2 separate regions of the Homo sapiens genome follow, and region 2 is linked to region 1. Evidence: promoter capture Hi-C in 16 types of primary human blood cells and fetal thymus (Javierre and others, 2016). All regions are on one chromosome and are shown on one strand. Each heading gives the region's core, a stretch centred on a gene start or on the middle of the fragment in contact. The rest is flanking DNA. Distances are from core to core; before and after follow the strand shown. Region 1 holds the start of KCNB1 (potassium voltage-gated channel subfamily B member 1). Region 2 overlaps SLC9A8 (solute carrier family 9 member A8).

Region 1 (6,461 bases), core at 3,836-6,335:
GTGAAACTCTGTCTCTACTAAAAACCCCAAAATTACCTAGGCATTGTGGTACATGCCTGTAATCCCAGCTACTCGGCAGGAGGCTGAGGCAGGAGAATTGCTTGAACCCAGGAGGCGGAGGTTGCAGTGAGCTGCCGAGATCATGCCACTGCACTCCAGCCTGGGCGACAGAGCAAGACTCCATTTCAAAAACAAAAGAAAGAAAGTGGAGCATAGGAGAAAATGTTTCTCTTCACGGATTAAACATCACTGAATGTACGTCTGAGGGCTGGAACTGGGCAGCCATCTTGTGATATGAAGCATCAAGCATGAGGACCAAGCCACTTGCAGGGGTTGGGGAGCAGAGGAGCAGAGAGATGAAAAGAATCTAGAATCCTGGTGGCATCATTGAGCCATTAACTCAACCTAAAACCAACTGCCTTGGAACTTCATATTATATTCAATGATGCATCTTCCTCCTTATTGAAGCTACTTTGAGTTTTCTATTCTGCTGCTTGCAGCCCAAAGCATCCCTAACTGGCATACTACCTGGTTGTATCCCTGTTGGAGGAATTTCAATGAGATAGCAGATATGAAGCACCACTAATCAGTGCTGGGCACAACAAACATAAGCTACCCTGGAAATTAGGAAGTTATCTCAGGGCTTTAATCCTGAGACTATCCCAGGGATCACAGACACTCCTGGGCTGGCAAATCAGTTCCCTGTCTCTCCTACTGAGAAAAGCCTGTCGAGTTTTCCGAGAAAGCCAAAGCCCCGTGGTAGCCCCAGCACCGCAACCCTGTCACACCAATGGGGCTGTCCCCATCTTCTAAACAAGAATCAATCACACTGCCTTTTGCCTAATGGGTTTTGATTTTCGCTCCCCTGATGGCAAAGCCTAGGGCCTGTGCTTTGGTTTGTCTCCGAGTTGCCAGAACATCCCATCAATTATTAACAGTGTCAGCTCAGTCTCCCTGGCCCTGCTGCTCTCAGAAGGAAAGGGTTTGCAGCAACTCGGCCCACCCAGCCCTAGAAAAAAGACTCTTTTCCTTAGCATTTATAACAACAATCCCCACCTGCTATGTGCTAGGCTTTGAGCAAAATTTTGACAAATGTGATTTAATGAAGACCCTGTAAGGTGAGCCTTTTATCTCCATTTTACAGGTGGAAGGTTGGGACTTGGAAAGTTGGAGAAATTAGCTAAAAGCTATGGAAGTGGGGAGTGGCACAGAACCAGATCCATCCTTGCTCTTCAGCATATGAGATATGGCCACTTTTGTATCTTACAATCACCTAGAAATGATCCTCCATTTGGTCCTGTCACTCTGTGAGTTCTAAGCAATTTCCACAGGCTTTGCTTGTTTTGACAAGCAAGGCATCCAAGCTGGGGGGATGGGTGGGGATGGGATGGGCAAGGTGCAGATGACTCAAAGGAGGCCAGAGGCACAGGGACCTGGGTTGCAGGTGGGCAGTGAGAAGGGGTGACAGGTCCCCAAACCCTGAGACACAGTGACTGACTGCTTGCTTGCTTGCTTGATTCATTCATTCGTTCATTCATTCATTCGTTCATTCATTCATTTATTCATTCCACATGCTCCTCAGTGCCAGGCACCATCATGGGTGCTGGGAATCAAGCAGTGAATCAACTCATGGTACTCACATTCTTGTGGGTGTGAAACAGAGACACACAAAGAAGGAAATATAATTTCAGATGGCGTTTAAGGCCTCTGCAGGAAAGGCATTGCATGATGCAACAGAGAGTGAGGGGAGGGAAACTGTTTAGAACAGCGGTCAAGGAAGGTCTGTATGAGGAGGGGACATGTGAGCAGGGACCTGCTCAAATGAGGAAGGGGGAGAAGGGGCTGGCCAAGGGGGAATCTGGGGAAGAGCATTCCAGGCAGCGGAAACAGCAAGTGCAAGGGTCCTGAGGTCAGATAAACTCTGGCCTGTTTATGGAACAGCAAGGCCAGTGGGGCTGGAGCCAAGTGAACCAGAGGAGATCAAAAGAGATGAGCCCAGAGAGGTCATGGGGGCCAGATTCTGCCTGGGCCTTGTATGCCAGGATGAAAAGTCTGAATTTTATTTTGAGTGTGATGGGAAACTTCTGGAGGATTTTAAGCAGATGAATAATGTGATCCAATTTACATTTTGAAAAGCTCACTTTGGCTGCTATGTGGGGAATGGATTGCAGGGGCAAAAGTGGAAGCCGGGAGACTGGGGAGGAGGCTGCGGCACTTGATCATTATAGAAAGAACACTCGGTTTGGATTTCTGGCTACTCCTGACTGCCTGTGGTGTGACCTTAGGCAAGTTACTTAACCTCTTTCAGCCTCACTGTTTGCGAAAGGTGGGATAATAACAGAGCTGCGTTGTTACACTCCATACACAGTAGGTGTTTGATCATTGGCAGCCAGGATTTCTATTCTGAGGGCCAGTGAGCCTGCCTCCCTCCCCATTTCAGCTCTGGCTACAGAAAATCCTAGATGGTCCATCTGCCAGGAATGTGAGCTGGCAGCCCCAGACTGGGATCATGGAGAGGTCACAAGGCTGTCCCTGCTAGCGGATTAACCCAAGGGAGAGGAGAGGTTCTTTATTCCCAAACAGCACCTCTTGCAAGCCCCGGTGCTTGGGTCTTGCTGCCAGACCAAAACATGGCCCTGTGCCTGCTTCTTCTCTGGGAGGGCAAATTGTCCAGTTCCCTGTACCTTGTTCTCATGTCTTAGGGATGGGACAGGGAGGGAGAGTCACATTTGGGCCTAAATGGGATGTGCAGTGGGAGAACCTGTGTCATGCCTGGAAATAGCAAAATAAGTCTGTTGATCCTAAGCTGATTAAGGGTGAGTGACTCTGTCTTAGGAGGAGGCTTTTTGGACACAAAATTGGGGGCGGGATTATGGAGAGAGACAGCCCACAGCCTCAGAGGAGGAAGCCAGGCCCAGGAGCCTCTACATCCTTGTTAGGGCCAACAGGGAAACGAAAAAAACACGTGGGGGCTCCCTCCACCCTCTTACCAGCCACCCCTTCTCCATCCACTCTCAGGGGCCTCTCCTTGGGTGGCTAGATCTGGAGGAAGGACCCCACGGAGTCTCCCTTCAGACTGGGACCTGCAGGTGGGCCTTCAGTGAGAACTGAGCCGGAGACCCCACAATGAAAGGCTGGGCTGGACAGGAGTCAGCCCTAGCTAGTAAGATATGGCTGGATATTTAGGCTTCCTCCTCTCCTCTTTCTTTTACCACAAATCTACTTACCTGACCCCTTTTTTTAGGCCCCACACTCAGTTACATTCTCCCCATGTTTCCCAAGTTGGTCTTGCTGGATTTCAACATCAACATCTCTCTTTTCTGGGTTCTCCGTGAACCTCACAGAACCTCTTTTATAGCCTTGCACACACTGTTTTGTCATTTGCTCCCAGCACCCAGCACTTCGGGCACATGAAGACAGGCCCCATCTTTCCCAGGCAACCCCAAATCCCAGCCTGACGTAGAGAAGTTGCTGATCAACCAGTGCCCTCCTGCCCTGCCTTGGCTCCCACCCCAAGCCTTCCTCAGTCCCCTACAGCCCCTGCCATTACCCAGCAGCACCAAAGACTCTCTGGCCCACTCTTTGTGTTCAAACTCATTCCTGCCTCCTCCTCCTCCTCCTCCTTTATTTTTCACATTGCCTCATTTTTCTCTCCTATTTTGAAATTTACATCTTGTTCCAAGAGCTGAAACATCTTTACAAGCTGCACCAAACCATTCTGGAAATAAACTCACCAAATAAATAAGTAACCAGGGGGTGACCCCTCACCCGCAAGCATCCACAACCAACTGCATGTGTCGTGTGGGTCCACACCCACCCCTCGGGGTCCCTTCTTACTTATGTTTAAACTATCTGACAGTATCTCAATGTCCTGTAAGCATGTCTGTAAGCTGCTTTTTTCCCTTGCTGGGGCAGAGTGAGGTTATAAATATGGAGATATTAAAATCACAGGGTGATCCAATCCAGCCTAGGTCTGGGACTTCACAGGGAAGCAAACCCTACTCCACCCCAGCAAGCCACTGTTGTCTCTCTGTGCTCTCTCTCTTATTCGTCAGTGTCCATCTTCTTGCTGTGGCTTTTTATGGGTCCCTGTGAAACCTCTCCAACCAAGTAGGGGTATAACGTCTTGGATAATAAAAAGATGGAGTGACCAGTGCCACATGGGAAAAGTCTGAGGGGGTTGGTCCTCACCTCTGGGGACTCAGTCCTAGCCCCTCCCCATTACTAATCTTCATCGTTGGGAACAAAGCCAGAGTCCTCCAGCAGTGGTCCTCAATATGGGGATGCAAGCAGATCCCCCCAGACCAGCAGCCCCCAGATCCCAGACTCACCTTGGCAGCCACAGAGGAATTGGGCTTCTCCAGTAGGTCCCAGAGTTTTTTCCTCTTCTCTGCGCAGCACGTGTTATCGAACTCCTCGCCTTCCCGCTCCCGTAGGGTCTCGGCCTCACGCTTGAGCTCCTCGTTCATCTGCTCTTTCTTCTGGTGGTAGCGGGCCTGGCAGCAGGACTCCAGGTAGATCTCGTCGATGCCCCAGTAGTCGAGCTCTTGGCTGAAGCTGAGCGCGCACATCTCCTCCATCATGTGCAGTCGCCCAGTGCGGTAGAAGTTGAGGATGGAGGTGAAGGCGCCCGGGTGGCGGTCAAAGAAGTACTCGTTGTCGTCGAGGCTGTAGTCATCGCACACCTCGAGCAGCGAGTCGTGCGTGTTGCAGTCGCGGAGCTTGCCCAGCCGCGTGCGGGGCAGGCGGTCCAGGGTACGCCAGAGTACCTCGTGCGCCAGCCCCCCGACGTTGAGGCGGACCCGCCGAGAGCACGCCTTGCTGCGCACGATCTCCATGGGCTCGGGCGGCAGCGAGCTGGTGGAGCGGGAGCCATGCTTCGTCATGCCCGCCGGCATCGCTGATCCGGCCGCCCCCGCCCCCCCTGCCCCCCCAGGCCGCTGTCACTCGACGGCAAGGCCCGCTGCTGCGGGGGAGGGGGGCAGGGAGCGCTGTGGGCTGCTGGGGGTGCAGGGGGCCCCGCGGGCGCGCGTCACGGCCGTCTTCTCACCTCCATCCCGACGGCTGCGAGGCAGAAAGCGAAAGCGGACGCGGGTCAGCAAACGGGGAGCTGGGCATGCTGTCCCCCCGCCCCCCACCTCTCCACCAGGCTCCCAGCCGGCCTTGACCTTCCCCCGCGCTTAAGCGGCTCAGTGGGGTAGGACGGATGGTCGCTGTCCCTCCCGCCGGTGCTGAAGTCCGCCGCACCCCATGGATGGAGGGAGGGGCCGCCCCTCGGGGCGGGGAGAGGGCCCCAAGAGATGCCCCTGGAGCCCGGGAGGCCCCACCCTGGGCTTCTGCGGCCCAGGCGCGACCCAGCCGCCCGGGGCGCTGTCCGCCCCTTAGAGTGCTGAAACTCTCTTCATTATGGGTCTCCCGATCGAGTCCCGAACCTGGCCCCGCCATGGGGAGAGAGGGGGAGCTGCATGAAAACTTTCTTTCTTTATCTTTTTCTTTCTTTCTTCTTCTTCTTTCCTTCTTTTTTTTTTTTTTAACGAGTTCTCTTCTTTTCCTTCCCCTTCTCGAGATAATCAAGATTTTGGGGGTGGGGGAATGGCAGCGGGCTTTTTTCCAAATCTTAAAAGATTTGGGGGAATTCCGGGGGTTCCAGGTGCCCACCTGTCCGAGGTCACAACAGACGGGGTGTGCACAACAGCCCCTCTGTCCTGGAGCGACCCCTCTTCCCAAACACTGGAGCATCTCCTGAGATTGCTCCAGCGACAAGGTGAGCCGCGAGGAGGAAAAGCCCGCTCTCGCCTCTCCCTCTGAGCCCCCAACCCTACCGCAGGAGGGGCGGGCAGAGTCCTCGGGATCCGCCTGCTCCGTCCTCCCCTCGCTCCTTCCCCGCCCCCTTCTCCTCCTTCTCCTCCCCCTCCTCTTCCTTCTCCCCCTCCTCCTCCTCTTCCTCCTCCTCCTCCTCCTCCTCCTACTCCTCCTCCTCGTTCCTCTCCCGCGATGGCTTTTTATAACTCCGGGTTCTGCGCCTTTCCCCGGGCTTGGAAGGGAAGGGGTGGGGGAGGTGGGAGGCGGGGAAATGAGCTAAATTTTCTGGCCTTTTCAAAAGGTGCCATCCTCCTACCGCGCACTAGTGATTTCGGGGGGTTCCCCTGAGCACCCCCTGCATGTAGGGCTCACGCCTTAGCCCCAGAATGGGGATTGCGCGTCCCCTCAGGCCTCAGCCCTTGCCTGCCTCCCACCCCGCTCCCCTCCAGCCTGGAGCTGCGGAGCCCGAGCAGACCAACAGGCCGAGCTGCGGCAGGCAAACCCCCTGTCCGTGTCCCCATGCACCCCCACGGAAGGCCGTACGCCCCAACACTCACCCCCAGGGCGGCCGCCTCCTGGGGCCAGGGACCGCGCATCGTCCCGGCCGCCCGGGCGCCCCCGCCCGTGGGCAGCGGCGGTCCCGGGGCCGGGCTGAGCCG
Region 2 (6,461 bases), core at 1,527-4,026, 400 kb after region 1:
GTCCATTTTTAGTTTTCCTCACAAGTTTGAAATTTCCTTTGTCATCTGGTGCATAGTAAGTATTTTCCTTTTTTTTTTTAAATTTAATTACTTATTTGTAGATCAATAAACACATGTTCCGGATTCATTTATGTAACTGTTAACTGTTCAAAGTCAACAGCTACATAGACACTCTTTTGTTTAAAGTTTCTTTTGTTAAAAAAAAAAAATCACAAACATACAGTAAGGGGGCAGGGGTAGAATTAAGTGAATAAATATCCCCAGAAAGGACTTTTGCTTGTTTTTTAAGATTTTTAATGGCCTTGAATATTATGGTCTTTAAATAAAAGTACAGGTTTGTAAGTTTTTGTGTGAGGAGGTAAAAGCAGATTTCAAAATTGAATATGTAATTGATCATAACCATGTAAAAATATTATGCACAGAAAAAAGAAAATATGTAAAGAAAATATAGCCACATGTTCACAGTGGTCATAGAGTTGGGATTTCTTTCTCTTTTCTGCTTTTTCTGGATAATTTATTATGTACTTCTTACTGCAGTTTTCTTCAAATTTGTCTATTTATATTTGTCTATTTGTCTGTTTATAAGATATTGTTCCTGCAACCTGGGTACTTCCATCTCTCAGTCAGCAAGAGCTCATTGCTCTTGGTCACTGTTATTTGTCCTCCAAACTCAGGTTTCAGGGCAAGAGAGAAGCAGCAAAAGTCCTTTACAGAAAGTATAATAGCCTAGGCTGGGCGCGGTGGCTCACACCTGTAATCTCAGCACTTTGGGAGGCCGAGGCTGGCGGATCATGAGGTCAGGAGTTTGAGACCAGCCTGGCAAACATGGTGAAACCCCATCTCTACTAAAAATACAAAATTAGCCGGGCGTGGTGATATGCGCCTGTAATTCCAGCTACTCAGGAGGCTGAGGCAGGAGAATCGCTTGAACCCGGGAGGCGGAGGTTGCAGTGCAGTGAGCTGAGATCATGCCATTTGCACCCCAGCCTGGGCAAAAAGAGCGAAAGTCCATCTCAAAAAAAAAAAGTATAATAGCCTTTAGTGTGGCCACTGGGGAAAAGGGACACATTTGATCAAACCTGAAACAAGTGTAGGCATGGAAGATTGGATTTCAGTGGGTGAAACAGGGAGGTGACTATTTCAGCCACAGGTTGGGAGGAAAATGAAAGGATGCCCTGGGGTGACAACTCAGTTTTCTCTAAGCAGTTAGGCCCAGGCTGGCCCTGCAGCTAGTGGAGATGGCCTATTCAGGTGGGTTACAGTTCCTGCCCTGTAAACTCAATTTAGTGGTCAAGAGCATGGGCTTTGGGGTCTGAACCAGATTTGAGACTTGGATCCATTACTTCCTGCCTTGTCAACTTGGACCAATTACTTCATCTCTCTATACCTCAGTTTCCTTGTCTATAAACTGGAGACAACAATACCTACTTTGTAAGACCTTTGCAAGGATTTAAATTTAGCAGGATAATGCATGTAAAATGATTAGCATGTTGTCTGGCATAGAAATGTTTGATGATTGGAAACATTTACTCTTGGCCAGGCATGGTGGCTCACGCCTATAATCCCAGCACTTTGGGAGGCTGAGGCGGGTGGATCACTTGAGGTCAGCAGTTTGAGACCAGCCTGGCCAACTTGGCGAAACCCCGTCTCTACTAAAAATACAAAAATTAGCCGGGCATGGTAGCACACGCCTGTAATCCCAGCTACTAGGGAGGCTGAGGCAGGACAATTGCTTGAACCCGGGAGGCAGAGGTTGCAGTGAGCCAAGATCACGCCACAGCACTCCATCTCAAAAAAAAAAAAAACTCTCAAATTCATGCTTGTTAAAGGAATAAACTTAAAGCCTAAAGAATGTACTGTACATGTCTATATCATCCTTTTCAAGTAGTTATGGTGAGAACCAAGATGAAGAAAATGAAAGTAAAGTAATAAATGTCCTAAGAATCCACTTAGATAAGATTTAAACTTTAGGCTGGGTGCAGTGGCTCACACCTGTAATCCTAGCACTTTGGGAGGCAAAGGCAGGAGGATTGCTTGAGACCAGGAGTTTGAGACCAGCCTGGGCAACATAGCAAGACCTCATCTTTAACTAAAAAATTTTAAAAAGTAGCCAGGCATGGTGGTGCATACCTGTAGTTCTAGCTACTTGGGAGGTTAAGGTGGGAGGATCACTGGAGCCCAGGAGGTTGAGGTTGCATTGAGCCACAATCACACCACTGCACTCCAGCATGCGAGACAGAGTGAGACTTTGTCTCAAAAAAAAAAAAAAAAGATGTAAACTTTACATAAAGCTGTACTTTGCCAAGACTAACATGCCTTTGGAGATGGAGAGGAACCAAAAGCCACAGCAAGCAGCTGGCAGGCTAAGCCGGGGCATGTGGCCTCCTGATAGTCCCTACCTCTGCGTTCCTCTTGCTCAGAGAGCAGTGTTTCCATGCATGGGAGGTCCTTCATAGCTGCCCTCCTTTCCCTGAGGGAGAGGCAGAAACACCTTGTCTGTCCCCCTAGTCCTGGTATGATCAATGCAGCCCTGTCCCAAGGAGGGGCACCTTGGGAGTCAGGTTGCCCTTAAACTAATCTGTGAATACTTCTGTACAGCCTCTTGGCATTCAGTTTTGTTCTGCTGTCATTACTAAAGCCCTTCCTGATACCTCGTCCGTCCTCTCTTTTCTGGCTACTAAGAAAGGTAACGTACAAAGCTTTATCCTTTCCTAGATGCATAGAATCCCGCAGCTGTGGCAGCACGCCCATGCTGGGTCTCTGACGAGCATGGTGTTGCTCGTGTCTTTTGTGGCTGAGGGGAATACTGCATTTGTACTGGATGTGTTACACAGTCTGCATTAGCTTCATCCAAGAAGCTTCAGCTTGAAGAGCCAGATGTTTTCACCTAAGACTTAGTTTGTTGCTATCAACAGGTGCTTGTACTATTTGGCAGAGCGGTAAACATTTTCCCTCTTTCCTACCTCCTGAATTTCTTCCGGGATCATAAAATCACACCGAAGATGATGTTCATCATGTGGTTTAGTGGTAAGTCAAATCTTGGATAAATGGGGTGGGGAAGTACCTGTTAAAAGCACGCCCCATACAGGGAGAGCTGTGGTTCTCTGCTAGCGCCCTTGGCAAAACCACAAGTAATCAATACTCCCGTTTAATGGCACCCACTGCAATCAAGATGGTGCCCCTCACCATGGTGCTATGAAGTGGGTGAGGCTTGGTTGGAAGAGGGCAAACAACATGCCCAGGGTCACGTGACCACTGGAGGCAGAGCCGGGATTTCTGCCACTCTCTTCTGAACACCATAGTGCAGTCCGGGATGCAGCTGGGCGTGCTTCAGCGCCTCCCTGGGGGTCTTCTAGGCTGAAGTAATAATGGTCTCAAGGTAGAAAAGGTGAAAGTTGAAACTGTTTCATACCTTATGTTAGTTTTGGATATTTTTCCTTTTAGTCACAAAGTTCTAGTAGTTTAATTTGAATGTTTCAGTTGCTATTTAATCACTTTTTAAAGGACGGAAATGATTTCATACATCTTTGCTTCTAAAGAACTGGATCCATAGGCATCCTTAAATTTATTTTTGAGCAATACATACTGTTCTTTATGCTTTCTTGCTTAAATATTATAATCAAAGTATTTTCCGTGTGGGTTGGGTTATAGCAACACACTATAATGTTCTCTATCCAAAGGCATATCTGCAAGTTTGTCTCAGATTTCTCTTCTTTCAAAAGGCCATGTTTAAAAATGTATATGTTTCATATATATGTACGTATGTGTATATATACATATACATTTATATGTGGTGAGAAAAACTCATTTTTTTCCTAATCTCTTTTGCCAGTGAGGCAAACTACTTTGTAAATGGTTGCAGAAGTGTGTCAGAGGTTTTTGAAGTGATGTGGGCTATTTGGGAAGGGGGGCATGAGGATAAGAGAGCGTTATGGGGAAGGTTGGAGTGTATTTGAAATGGCGGGGGCTGTCGGCTCCTGTTCTCTCCCAGGCTCCCCGGGCTCTTGCTCTGTGGGTTTCCATCCAGGCTTTCCTGGATCCTCAACGAGGGGCACTGAACAAGCCTCTGCTACCGGCCCCTCCCATCATCATTTAAGCAATCAGAGCTTCTCCTCCTTCCCACAAAACACCAGCAACTTCAGCCAGAGTTCCTCCTCATGTCCCCCGCAGCTGTGTCCGCACCTCTTTTGCCATGGCCAGACCCTTGCGAGTGAGCCGTGCTCGCTCATTTTCTCCACTTCTTCACCGCCTGTCCACGGGGCTGGAATTGGCCTTGGCAGGTCACCAGTGACCTCCCGCAGCCAGACCTGGAGGGGAGGCGTCCGCCCCCGTCCTAGCCTACCTCCTTCCCACTGCCCCTACCTTCTGGCGAGGACCACTTCACTCTCTTCCCCGGCCTCTGGGCCATGCTCCTCCTTTCTCTCCTTTGACGTCTCCTTGGGCTCGTCCCCCTTCGCTGACCCCTCAAATAGTGGCTTCTTCAGGACTTGGCCCCAGCCCCACTTCTGTTCACGTGTTCTGCACTTCACTGAGTGCGCTCACCCGTCCACTGGCCTTCACTTCCACCTAGTCCCAAAGCTGTTCCCGCGAACCCAGACCTCCCTCTGGGATCCGTACTCCTGTTTCCAGCTGCCTGTTTGGATGCCGTGGGGATGCTGTCATCCCTATGCCTTTGCATCCCCCTTGCCCAAGAAATCCTACTTTGAATTGCCCGGTGGCCTGGCTAGCCGGTACTAAGCACTTGCTGGGTACACACCCTGTTAAAGCACATTACATGTCCCGTGTCACTGAATCCTCTGGCCCGTGACAGGTTTAGAGAGGCTGAGAGTCCCTTGTCCTCACCATGTCTCTGTATTATGTGCCCTTTGCTCTTGCCCTGCCGTCTCCCCATCTGGGTCTGGCCTGCAGCAGCCTGGCTGCCCTACCCCATGGTGATGTGAGCCTCCCCGCTTTCCTGTCTGGGGAAGGTCCTGGTGCTGTCTGCACCATGCCCCCCCCCACCCCCCACCCCCCTCCCCCCACCATCTCTTCCAGGTAGCATTTCACACCCCTTATTTGCTGTGCCTCCTCCCAGCTGCTCTAGGAGCTCCCCAAGGGTGGGGCTAGGACTGCCTGTCCCCTCCGTATGGCACCAAGGAAGCCAGGAAACTTCTAACAGAGGAATGTGCTGTTTTCCAGCTCAGTCCATGCCCCTCAGTTGTGCCCTAGTAGCGTCACAGAGGACCAGCCAGCCTGTCATTACCACCTAAGCAGCCCACAGCCCCATCAGTGCCACCAGGGGCCTCCACAGGGACAGCATCTCGAGATAGGAGGGGTACTGGACACATTGCATCTTGTGCTGTTGTGGGTATTAGTTGAGTGGCCCTGGGCGGGCCATGCTGCTCTTGGCCTCCATCCCTCATCTGTGTGTTGTGGACAAGAGTAGCGCTGCTCGGTGAGGATTCCTGTGAAGATCCAGTGATGCTCTGCACACTGAGCACCTGCCCAGGCCTGGCGCACACACAGGGAGGGCTCAGCCCACAGCAGCTGTCCTGCAGTTTCCAAGACACGAGCATCAGGCTTGCTAAGTCCTCCCGCACCCGCATCTGGGGCTCTGTAGCTGGGGCAGGCCATCTCATTTGATCTGCCAATGTTGGAATGGAGGTGAGTCTGTGGTCCCATCTCTGCCACCTGCTCTTTACACCCCAAAGCCTCACAGGGTGAGCACACACTCTTCAGCAGGGCCATTAGAATAGTCAGCTGGTCGTGGTGCTGGGCCGGCTGGATTTCCAGGGAAGCCAGCCCATGAAGCTGCTGCCTCTTCACTGTGTCCTCTCACACTGTTTGCTGTCACCCAGGCCTGCGGGGAGCCATCCCCTATGCCCTGAGCCTACACCTGGACCTGGAGCCCATGGAGAAGCGGCAGCTCATCGGCACCACCACCATCGTCATCGTGCTCTTCACCATCCTGCTGCTGGGCGGCAGCACCATGCCCCTCATTCGCCTCATGGACATCGAGGACGCCAAGGCACACCGCAGGAACAAGAAGGACGTCAACCTCAGCAAGACTGAGAAGATGGTTAGTACCATGCGCCTGTGGGGGTGGGGCAGGGGGCTGGCCTGCTACGCAGCTGGTGGTCCCCACTGTCAGGAAATGGGGAGATGAGCCTTGCTTTCTTGCTTTGAGGATGCCCAGCACCTCCACACACACGACACACACACACACACACACACACACACACACACACACACACGACACACACACACACACGACACACACACACACGACACACACACACACGACACACACACACACACACACACACACACACACACACACACACACACACCCCCCGGTCATCCCCCCTGAGAAGGAGGTGACGGAACTTGAGTTCTGAAGCATGGCTCTTGGGGTGGGGGTGTCTGGTGGCCTTGTGACCTGCCGCAGCCATGGGGGCTGTGGACGACCCCATCTGCTCCCT

What was found. The method cuts DNA at HindIII sites, captures the fragments that hold promoters and counts their contacts. A CHiCAGO score of 5 or more calls a contact.
Region 2: a contact is called between a fragment that was not itself captured here and the fragment with the promoter of KCNB1 in region 1, in 1 of 17 cell types (endothelial precursors). The highest score is 6.8, in endothelial precursors.

The regions. Positions count from the first base shown.
Region 1 is chr20:49,477,583-49,484,043 of GRCh38, forward strand. It overlaps KCNB1 (potassium voltage-gated channel subfamily B member 1), which reads right to left and starts at 5,086. Exons shown (of 2, transcript NM_004975.4): 1 at 4,332-5,086. The coding sequence starts at 4,898. The HindIII fragment of the contact is 15,223 bases long and covers 1-6,461 here.
Region 2 is chr20:49,878,009-49,884,469 of GRCh38, forward strand. SLC9A8 (solute carrier family 9 member A8) reads left to right here. Exons shown (of 16, transcript NM_015266.3): 12 at 1-55; 13 at 2,916-3,027; 14 at 5,838-6,058. Among named protein-coding and RNA genes, the nearest start is that of MIR12122, 17 kb to the left of the region's middle. The HindIII fragment of the contact is 159 bases long and covers 2,698-2,856 here.